Linked DNA regions of Homo sapiens: regions 2 and 3 are each linked to region 1. The links are contacts of gene promoters, found by promoter capture Hi-C in human tissues and cell types (Jung and others, 2019). All regions are on one chromosome and are shown on one strand. Each heading gives the region's core, a stretch centred on a gene start or on the middle of the fragment in contact. The rest is flanking DNA. Distances are from core to core; before and after follow the strand shown.

What was found. The method cuts DNA at HindIII sites, captures the fragments that hold promoters and counts their contacts. A contact is called where the count stands out against the background at its distance.
Region 2: a contact is called between a fragment that was not itself captured here and the fragment with the promoter of APCDD1L in region 1, in 1 of the 25 tissues and cell types used here (IMR-90 fibroblasts).
Region 3: a contact is called between a fragment that was not itself captured here and the fragment with the promoter of APCDD1L in region 1, in 3 of the 25 tissues and cell types used here (H1 embryonic stem cells, IMR-90 fibroblasts and bladder).

What each region holds. Positions count from the first base shown.
Region 1 is chr20:58,513,758-58,517,079 of GRCh38, reverse strand. APCDD1L (APC down-regulated 1 like) reads left to right here and starts at 1,681. Exons shown (of 4, transcript NM_153360.3): 1 at 1,681-2,421. The coding sequence starts at 2,373. APCDD1L-DT (APCDD1L divergent transcript) reads right to left here and starts at 1,701. Exons shown (of 7, transcript NR_034147.1): 1 at 1,340-1,701. RefSeq lists an enhancer at 2,080-3,078. The HindIII fragment of the contact is 21,415 bases long and covers 1-3,322 here.
Region 2 is chr20:58,697,420-58,700,741 of GRCh38, reverse strand. It overlaps NPEPL1 (aminopeptidase like 1), which reads right to left. Exons shown (of 12, transcript NM_024663.4): 4 at 1,969-2,058; 5 at 1,464-1,545. STX16-NPEPL1 (STX16-NPEPL1 readthrough (NMD candidate)) reads right to left here. Exons shown (of 23, transcript NR_037945.1): 14 at 1,969-2,058; 15 at 1,464-1,545. Among named protein-coding and RNA genes, the nearest start is that of NPEPL1, 6.3 kb to the right of the region's middle. The HindIII fragment of the contact is 5,636 bases long and covers 1-3,322 here.
Region 3 is chr20:58,675,590-58,678,911 of GRCh38, reverse strand. It overlaps STX16 (syntaxin 16), which reads right to left. Exons shown (of 9, transcript NM_001001433.3): 9 at 1-2,725. The coding sequence ends at 2,621. The region is part of intron 8 of STX16-NPEPL1 (STX16-NPEPL1 readthrough (NMD candidate)); the gene reads right to left. Among named protein-coding and RNA genes, the nearest start is that of NPEPL1, 16 kb to the left of the region's middle. RefSeq lists enhancers at 2,035-2,559, 2,560-3,085. The HindIII fragment of the contact is 6,742 bases long and covers 1-3,322 here.

The DNA of each region.
Region 1 (3,322 bases), core at 432-2,931:
TTTAACTTTTTTTTTTTTTTTTTTGAGATGGAGTTTCACTCTTGTCACACAGGCTGGAGTGCAATGGCATGATCTCAGCTCACTGCAACCTCCGCCTCCCAGGTTCAAGTGATTCTCCTGCCTCAGCCTCTGGAGTAGCTAGGATTACTGACGCCCGCCACCACGCCCAGCTAATTTTTGTATTTTTAGTAGAGCCGGGGTTTCACCATGTTGGCCAGGCTGCTCTTAAACTCCTGACCTCAGGTGACCCACCCGTCTGGCTCTCCCAAAGAGCTGGGATTACAGGTGTGTGCCACGGCACCCGGCCTTAGCATGTAGTTTTTAAACTACCCATAATTGTAAATTTTGTACATTGAAAGACCCATAATTGCCACAAATAATCACAATTATGCAAGTATAAATAATCACCCTGCACAACTCTCCTCTTGCCCACAAAGTTATCCCTTTCATGAGAATTTAATATGTGACAATGGCCATTGTCTGCCAGGGAAAGCTCATACCGATTTCAGTTTCAGCAAGGCCACCTCGAGTCTCATAGAAACCAGAAAAAAAAAATGTCATTTTCAGGAAGCAAATTGATCGTTTTCCTCACATTTCCATTTGCGTTAAGATCATGGTGTGGCCTTGCTCTGGACTTTTTCCTATTCCCTGTTGCCTCTGGAGAGGAGGAAAGCTAAGGATGGCTGGTGGGCCCACATCGGGGGTCCCTGGGTGGATTGAAGGGCTCTTGTGGCTCCTGGAAGCCTCGCCCAAGTTTCTGGTAAGAAATCAAAAGGTGAGGTGGTGTCCCCTGTTCCCCTGTGGGATGATCAGCCCACAAAAGTGGGACAAATGAGTCTATAAAATGCTTCAGAGGGGCAGGTGGACTGCTCACTCGTGAGTCCCGGGAAACAGGCCTGGCCCAGTTCTCCAAACCTTTCCCCAGGGAGACCGCATCTCTGTCTTCTCTCTTCTTCTCTCTTCTCTCTTGTTCTCTCTTCTCTCTCTTCTCTCTTCTCTCTCCCCCTCCCTCCTCCTTCCTGGTTCTCTTTTTTCTGTTGATTTCACTCCCTCCTTTCTTTTCCCTTTCTCTTTCCTCCCCTTTCTCTCTCTTTCTCTGCCTGTTTCCCCTTTCCTCACTTTCATTTCTCTTTCTGTCTCTTTCTTTCTCTCCCTCTCTCAGGTCTCTCTTCTCTGTCTCTCTTCATCCTCAGTTTTCCCCTCTCTCCCCTCTTACTTTCTTTCCCTTTTTCCTTTTTCTTTCCATCTTCTTCCTCTCCCTCTCTGGGTTCGTGGCAACACAAGGAAACCCGCACATCCCCAGCCCGCAGCCTCGCCCCCTCGGTCCCACTGCAGTTACCCGGTGATCCATGCAGGTGGGAACAATCCAGTTAACTTTTCCCATCCGAGTGATTCTCTTTCTCTTCTTCATTCATAAATGCCATAACTCTCCCGGTCCTCCTTTCCAAGGCTCGTGCACTTGATTTCAAGGCTTGCCTGCCACCCAGGGTGCCACCAGAGTCCCAGTGCCTGGGTTGGGGGCTGGAGCGCACCCTTTGGGATCCCCCAGCCTGTCCTCCGCCTCACGGCTGCCTCGCTTCTGAGCTGCCACCCTCAGCTGACTCACTCAGATGAGATTTGGGAGGGAGGGGGGCAGGAGGAGGAGTTGCGAGAAGGAGGAAAACCCGCCTGGTCGGGTCCACACTTTGCCTAGATGCGTTTGGGTGTGGTGGGGAGCGGGTGACGGCCTCATTTACAGACAGAGGCCGGGGCTGGCTTCTAGGCGACCGGGTTGGCCACTTTCACTGCGCTTCTGGGTTTGCTGGGATCCAAGTTGACGCGACTTTTCCAGGAGTAGCTGGAAGACCTGAATAGAAACTTCAGGGGTCCCAGGACTGGCGGGGCTTAGAGGAACTCCCCGCCCCGCTTGCCCTTCCAGGGAACGGCCTGGCTAGGGGTGCGCTTTGACGCAAGGAGCGCATCGCTCTGCCTTGGCCGGGACCAGAGCTTGGGGGAGGCCTCCTTGCCCACTGCGAAGACTTTGGGGAAGGCGACGGCCAGGGGACGGACATCTGGGGGAGGGCTGGGGGTCTGAATGGCAGGAGCTGCACCAGGGGGCTGTGCGCGCTGCGCGGGTGTGCGCGCCTCGCCGGGGGCTGTCTCCACCTCTTCTGGCAAGTTGGACCTATGAGTGCGCAGCTCCGCTTACAACTATCAACAGCCGGGAAGGCTGAGCGCGTGTGAGCGCCGAGGGGGGCGCAGGACCCTCGCAACTTCTTCGCAGGACTCCAGCCTGGCCGCCGGCGCCCGCAGCCGTCCGAGAGCCCTGCGCCCGCGCCTCCCCTTGCGCACCGTGGCAGCGCCCGGCGGGCGGTCCTGCCAGCCCCGACGGGATGCCCGCAGCCATGCTCCCCTACGCTTGCGTCCTGGTGCTTTTGGGAGGTAGGTGCCACCCTCCCCCACCCGGCAAACTGGCTGAGCTCGGAAGGGAGGGAGCTCGCCGTCTAATGTCCCCTAAGGGCCCTTGGGGACTACGGCCCTGGGTCGGCCCACGCGGCTGCTATGCTGCGCCCTGCGCGCCTTTCTCCAGTCTCACCTGGCCGGCACCTGCGCGCCTCCAGGAGCTTCCTGGGGCCTGCGGGAGGGAGTCGCGTCACCTCGCAATATGAGAGCCGCTGCACTCTCTGCGCCAGTCGGGGCCTGGCCTGTAGGTACCCAGAGCTGCCCTTTGTGCCGGGCCCAGTGGGACCGGGGCCTCCAAGAAGATGCAGGAGGATCCCAGGCCCACTGAGACCCCCATGGTGCGGGACAAGCCCGGCTATTCAGACCAAGGTTACTGGGGTTGTTTTTGCCCACGGAATCCTGACCTGTGCGGGGTCGGGGCTTCTTCCTGCAGCAGGACTCGGGGAGAAGCTAGGGAGCGCGCAGTGACCCCAGGCTCGAGTTGTGCCCAGCAGGCCTGACAAAGGGGACCAAGGGGCTTCAGGAACCCCTGGTAGAGTAGTCAATGCCTTCTCCAGGACTAAGGGGTTCCCTGGTGGCTCTTCGTGGGGGTGGGGAGTAGGGTAGACAAAACTGTACAAAGGCCAGCTGACTGGAGTGTGCCATCACAGGGGCCCAGTCACCACTGACAAAAATGACAGTAACCACAGTTGAAGTGTGCCCAGCTGGGGGCTCATCCCCAAGCACCCTCACATTATGAATGGCTGAGAATTCTGGCCCTGGAGTTAGACCACCTGGCTGGGAAGCCCAGATCAACATCATATCAACCCGTCTGGCTTTGGGTAAGCATGGCCATCGGCTCTCTCAGCCTTGACTTTCTTTCCTGTCAAATGGGCTCACA
Region 2 (3,322 bases), core at 488-2,987, 180 kb before region 1:
AAAGAAAAGAACAGGATTGCAGAATGAAACGATGTTTGGATAACACCTCAAGGCTGCCCCAGCCCATGCTCGTCCCCACTTCCTGAATCCTTTGAGCACTCAGGGACTGCACCGCCCTTTCACACTCGCTCCCACAGTCCCTGCACCACTGCCTCTTTGGTTTACATGACACATCTTCTCAAGAAAGCTGTGGCCTGTGCGTGTGCAGAGTCTATGGCTCAAAGTCCTGCAATAATTGAGTCAAACAATCATAGCAACAATGACGAGAGCTAATCATGGCTGCCTGACAAACTCCAACTCATCCTGTAAGATCCACAGCAAATGCCACCTCCTCTGTGAAGCTTTTCCTGACACAAGCGGCCTCTCCCTCCACTTGTAAATGGCTCCTGTCTAGGTAGACACCACCAGGATGGCCCCTGTGGCCCCCACGTCTGGGTATTCATGTCCTTGTGCAGTCCCTCCCCCTCATGTGAGCAGGTCCTGATGTCTCACCTCTAACCAAAAGAAAAAGGTAGAAGTGATGAGATATCACTCCTGGGATTAGGTCACAGAAAAAGATGGGAGTTTCCATCTTGTTTGCTCGCTCTTTATCCCTATCTCTCGCTCAGAGACCTTGCTCGGAGGGTGGCTCAAACAGCAAGGACCTGCTGCCTCCAGCTAATGGCCTGTGAGGCCCTGAGACCTGCCAGCAGCCTGTTGTGAGCCTGCCCGGAAGCACATCGCCAGCCCCAGGCAAGCCCTCAGATGACTGCAGCCCCAGCCAACAACCTGACAACAGCAGGCAGAGACGCTGCACCAGGGGAAGATCCCCAACCCACAGCACGGGGAGGGGATAAGTGTTGCTGCATTCAGCTGCTATCTTCCGAGTGATTTGTTTTGTAGCCACACATAACACAGACAGCCGCCTTCCTCTTGCCAGTCTACAAGCACCACGGGGCAGCTGAGTCATACTTATCTGCCCCTCTGGTTCCTGGGCAGTGGGGAAAGGTGGGTCTGGGGACTTGGGGAAGGCCTCTCTGAGGAGGGGGCATTGGTTGAGATGGCCTCCACCAAAAATATATCTTGGGGGAAAGTATTCCAGATAGGGAGAGCCATCCGCACACAGGCCCTGCCTGCCGTGATGGGAACTTGTGTATTCAAGGAACAGAAAGGCCCTGCTGAGCCAGTCCCAGGAGTAAGGGTGTGCAGCACGCGAGGACGCTGGAGAGGCTGCAGGCAGGGAAGGACTTGGATCTAGCAGCTTCCAGAATCCAAATCAGAATCTGGATTGCCTCCCCTTCTCCCCCAGGGACGGCTGCTTCCCAGGGTCCGGCACTGGGCTTGGACACAGGCTGATTCCTTTCAGGTCACAAGCAGGATGAAGTTTGGGACAATGTGCCATGTGGCCCGCCGACCCCCTGCCACCCAAGTGCCCCTGGCCACTGCCCGAGGCCAAGAGCTGCAGGGATGCAGCCCCCACCCACCTCCAAATCCTCTCGTCTTCAGTTCCTCATCCCGGATGATGGTTGGGATGATCCCCAGCTCCTTTCCAACTTTGTTAATCTCCTGGACATGTTCATGGAAAAAACAACAGCACAACAACACATGAAGATGGCTGGAAACAGGAGAGGCCGAGGCTGGGGCCAGGGATGAACCGCTGCCTGTGCCGCGTCGGGGAGCCGGGCTTGGGAGCCAGCTTCGCGTGTGATGAAACCCAGAAGAGGGGGCTCACCCTCCACACACTCTCATTTCCTGTAGCTCTGGCTGTGGTCCTGCCAAGGGGCCTTGAAGAGGAGGCTCTGTCCTCCCCACACACCCTTTCCTGAGGCTTCCTGGAGCCCGGCAGACAGCAGCGCTCCGCCGAGGGCAGCCCTGAGGTTCCCTGGCCACGTCAGGGTGTGGACAGCCCCAGGTTTCCTCTGGCTCTCCTGGGAGTCTATGACACCCACCCCAGCCTGGTCCCACCCCCGGCCTGATGACGCCACAAACCTCGAGGAAGGTGTCGGTGTTCATCTCATTGCAGGGTGTGTCCACGATGCGGGCTGCTAGCCGCACGCCGTCTGTGGCATTCGCTAAGCACTAGGGAGAAAAAGGCCATCACTGGGGACCAGGTGGGAGGCAGATGTTCTCCCCTTGTCCATCCCCCAGGAACAAAAGGCAGCAGAGGCAAACATCACCCACAGGGCTACTGACAGGGCAGCAAAGAGAGGGGAGAGGGGGACCATGGCTCTCGCTGCCTGCCCCACCCCCAGCAACCCAGGGCCACCGGCCACCTGTAGAAAGAACCTTCAGCACAGCCACCACCCTGCGCCTCCACAAATATACAGGAGTCCCCAGCCTGGGGTCCTGCCCTTCTGTATCTGGATCTTTTCCAAGCCCTGTGTCCTGTTTCTCCCCTGATTCCAGCTACAACTGAAGGTAGGTGGCCCTCATGCCAGCCCCTGAGTATGCCCTGAGCTTCCCACGCCTCACCTCTGCAGATCCCACAGTCCTTTCCCTCCCACCAAGATCCCAGTCATCCTTCGAGGCACTTCTCATAGGCCGTATCTACCAGTAGCTTTTCCAGATCCTCCCCACCAAGCAGAAGCACTCTACATCCTGAGTGCTTGAACCTGCTGGCCCTCCCAGACGCCTTCCCTCTGGGCCGTTGCTTTCCTCATGAGTCCCACGCAAGTCCCTCATAAACCCTGCAAGACAGATGGGGGTCTGGCTGCCCTAGTGCTGTCACTTGACACAGCACGGTTCTGGGCACGGAGGGGAAGGACACAGAGGGAGGTCTCGCCTCATGGAACTGACGTGTCCACCCAGGAACTGAAAACATGGGCCCTGCTGGCCTGGCAGGGCTTCAGAGCCCACACTCGAAGGCAGGGCAGAGAGGGGCACATGCACCAAAGCACACATCACGTGGGTCCCAAAAATGTGTCCTTCAGCCCTGGCTTGGGCCATTCTTTGCCTTCTCATGTGTGTCTCACATCTGCCCTGGGAGCTTCACTCTCTCTCAGCTGAATCTGCGGGCACCCCTTCCCCACCCTGTTCCCCACTGTGCATCCCCAGGCACAGAAGCTTCAGACAGCTGGCTGCTTGCACGGCCTCCCTTGCTCACCAGAAAGACAATATTAAGAGAAGAGCAGCGCTGTTTTGCGGGGGTGCAGGACAGCAGCAAGTTTATCATCCCTGCCTCTAGTCTCATAATGTCAGGGCAGCAGGCGCCGGGTCGATACTGCAGCCTGGCCACCTCCCCCGCCCTGCCGAGGTAATTAAACCCCAAAGCCTCAAAGGTAGAAACCTGGACCTTGACAGCTCTGATATGAATGTGCCTGAGCCGTCCCTGCCGCCTGTCAGC
Region 3 (3,322 bases), core at 568-3,067, 160 kb before region 1:
TCCACGGCCCAGTAGAGTGTGGAAAAACATGAGGTGCCCACAGACAATGGCTGCCAGCGAGTAAAGGGAAAGAAACCCTGAGGTACCATGATTCTTTTCTCTTACTTCCTCAAATGCTACTGATCTCTCCCCAAGTACAGGCTCAACAGAAAAATACAGTGGTTTGAGGACCCCAAGAAGTCAGCACACAGGCCAGGGGCCAGCTCCAGGCTGGGTCTGTCTCTCCCACCTTGGGAAACCCAGCGCTAAAACAATTTTTTTTTTTTTTTTTTGAGACGGAGCCTCGCTCTGTCACCCAGGCTGGAGTGCAGTGGTGTGATCTCGGCTCACTGCAACCTCTGCCTCCCGGGTTCAAGCTATTCTCCTGCCTCAGCCTCTTGAGTAGCTGGGATTACAGGCGTGTCCCACCCGGCTAATTTTTGTATTTTTTGTAGAGACGGGGTTTCACCATGTTGGCTAGGCTGGTCTCGAACTCCTGACCTCGTGACCGCCTTGGCCTCTCAAAGTCTGGGATTACAGGCGTGAGCCACCGAGCCCAGCCCCTCCTTAAAACAGTTTCTAATCAGATCCGTTATTTTACCCAAATGGGTTGAGGGAACAAAAACCAACCCTCATCACCCTATTTGGTGAAAATAAATATAAAAAAAGATGATCCTCTCTTAAAGGGTCACTTTCCTTCAGGGGTTTGTAAGGCTCAGCACTTTAAAAAGCTTGAACAGAAGTCCGGTATTGCCACTGTGGACTGTTTTTGAGGCAAGTTCCCTAATGTGGACAGCCCCACACCTAAGAGCAGCAGATCTAACTTGGAACGTCTCAACCATGGGTTAAAATCAGATGGGATGAAAGAACACCTGCAGTGACTCTCAACAGCTACGGAAGTCTCACATTGCAGGGCTGACTGATGAGGTGCTGGCTTCTTATTCTCCGGCCCTCTTTCCTAAGCAATGTTTGTCAGGGAATACCAGGTCCGCTTCCTGAAATGCCAGGGCCCCTCTAGGACCTTATCATTCCACAGCCACATCAGTAATAGGAAAACCACCAATGGCTACCTGGAGGTGGCACCAACTTGGAAAGGGAAGGCTGGGCAGGGGTTTGGACACTAAGCCCATGAGCTGTTTGGACAACTTCAATCTCTGGAATTGAGTTTAAATTTCTGTAAACAACTTTAAAGTCAACTCTAGAGAGACATTTTGTGTGACTGGTCCAAATAAAACAGCACATTTAATGAGGTCATATTCTTCTTAAACTTTTTAAGAGAAGCAAAAACAATGGAAAAGCCATTAAAATTTACACAAAGACCATTAAAACTCTACTAGTGTCAATTAAAACAAAGCCAATAAAACATGAACAACTTCAAAGTTACCATCACTTTCCACACTGTTCTACAGTTATAGGAATATATTCAAGCACCATATTGATAATAGGTAGGTAAACGATGAAGTCCTACTTTGGCGGTCTGACCCACGCTCACACAAACGAGGAGCTTCCTAGTCAAGATGCCCCCAGTCCTTGGCAATGTGCCTGCTTCCTGGGCATTGCTCAGTGGCAATGGAAGAGCCAATAAATCAAATCGCTGGTGGAATATTTTACTTTGAAATGGAGTGATGTTTGGTTAATAATTTGAGATCCACTAATCCTAAATGGGGTGACCCATTTAAAATGGCCTCTGTGTAAATTCACAGTTCATTAAATAGAGTCTGGTTTGAACAGGTCATTATGTAGTTAGTATATAAGTAATGGATTGAGCAAGGATGGCTGGGGATACCCATGGGGACACACTGGCTGAGTCTGGTGGCTTTCATAACACTGTCAAGCTTTCTTTTAATGTGAGATTCATTTAAATCACCAACTTAAATTTAGGTGGTTTTGCTTAGTAACCTCTTTTGGTTTACAGTAGAAAATGCAGTGCAAAAATTTTAAATGAGGAATATTCCATTTACAATTAATTTAAAACTTATGAAGCTGTTTTAACTGGCCCATCTAAATGTGTTAATTAACATCAATGATGGTTTCTTATTTTTCACACTTTGTTACTCTGATCATTAACAGTGATGGAAAAGCTAAATTAAGTTAATGGGGAACGGATTATAAATTCTTAAAGGACTTCTTAGTTTGTTTTCAACTGGAAAATATATAGAGAAAGATGAAGGGGCATTTTTGCCTCTACTCATCAATTTTTGGTACCAAATTTCTTAAAAACCAGATGGTTTAAAGAAAATTTTTCCAAAAATTATGTTAACATTCTGCTCAGACATGGCTGCTAAAAAAATAGCATATACACATATAATACTGAACAGCTTCTGCAGTGCCTGTAAACTCTCAGCTCATTTTCTCTTTCTAAAAAAAATATATATTATAACTGATCCCAGAACTCAATCTCTATTGTGCAGCAGTATCAAAGGTCCTTAAATTCTCAACAATGAAGGAAAAACAAAAACCCATTCCCCGGACCGCTTGAGCAGGACTAGGGAAGGAGGAGTCCGTGGATGCAAAGGTTCGCTGCCCCGACGCCCTCAGATTCCTCGAGGCTGCACCTCTGCGGGCAGCTGGCGGGGCGCAGGCCAAGCCCCTCACACCCGGGAGATCCACACGCGCGGCACACACGAAAACCCAATGCCACTTATCGAGACTTCACGCCAACGAGGACAACAATGAGCACAATGATGATGACAAATAATATTAAAATCACAAGCATCTTCCGATTCTTCTTTTGATACTGTTCTGCCTACAAAAAGAGGAGGGAAAAAAGGCCGTCATTTTCCCCAAAATCCCAAATCAAGTCCCACTCGTTTCCAGAATGAGGCTTCCAGATCTCTCTGCACAGTGACTGAGGTCTCTGCTACAGGCTACATGATTGTAATCCCTCCAATCAATCCCACGGAATTCAATCACCAGGAGTGGAAGAGCCCCATGATCCTGGTGCTGCTTATTTACCCTGGACGTGGAAATGGATTTGTTGGAAACCTACTACTAAGACAAAGCCTGACAGGGAAGTGAAAGCTCATGCTTCCGGGTGCAGCTGGGCCTGCTTCTCCCGGCTTTTCCTCCTGCAGGCCGTGGCAAGTGCCCCTGCAGCACGGGTCGCCTGTTCCCGGTCCGTGTTCCTGGAGCGAATGCACAGTTCCTTCACCGCGGAAGGAAACAACGGGCTGGAGGACCGTACCTGGCAGGTAGGCAACAGACACCCGGAAGAGGCCCCATTTCGACCTCCCCTAAATTTGGAAACAAAAACTCATCCTTTGAAATAAAAACAGACACGTGTGCCCCATGGATGTCATATGCAGAAAGATCCCTCTGAGGCGCGTCCTCCCAGTGCCGCTAA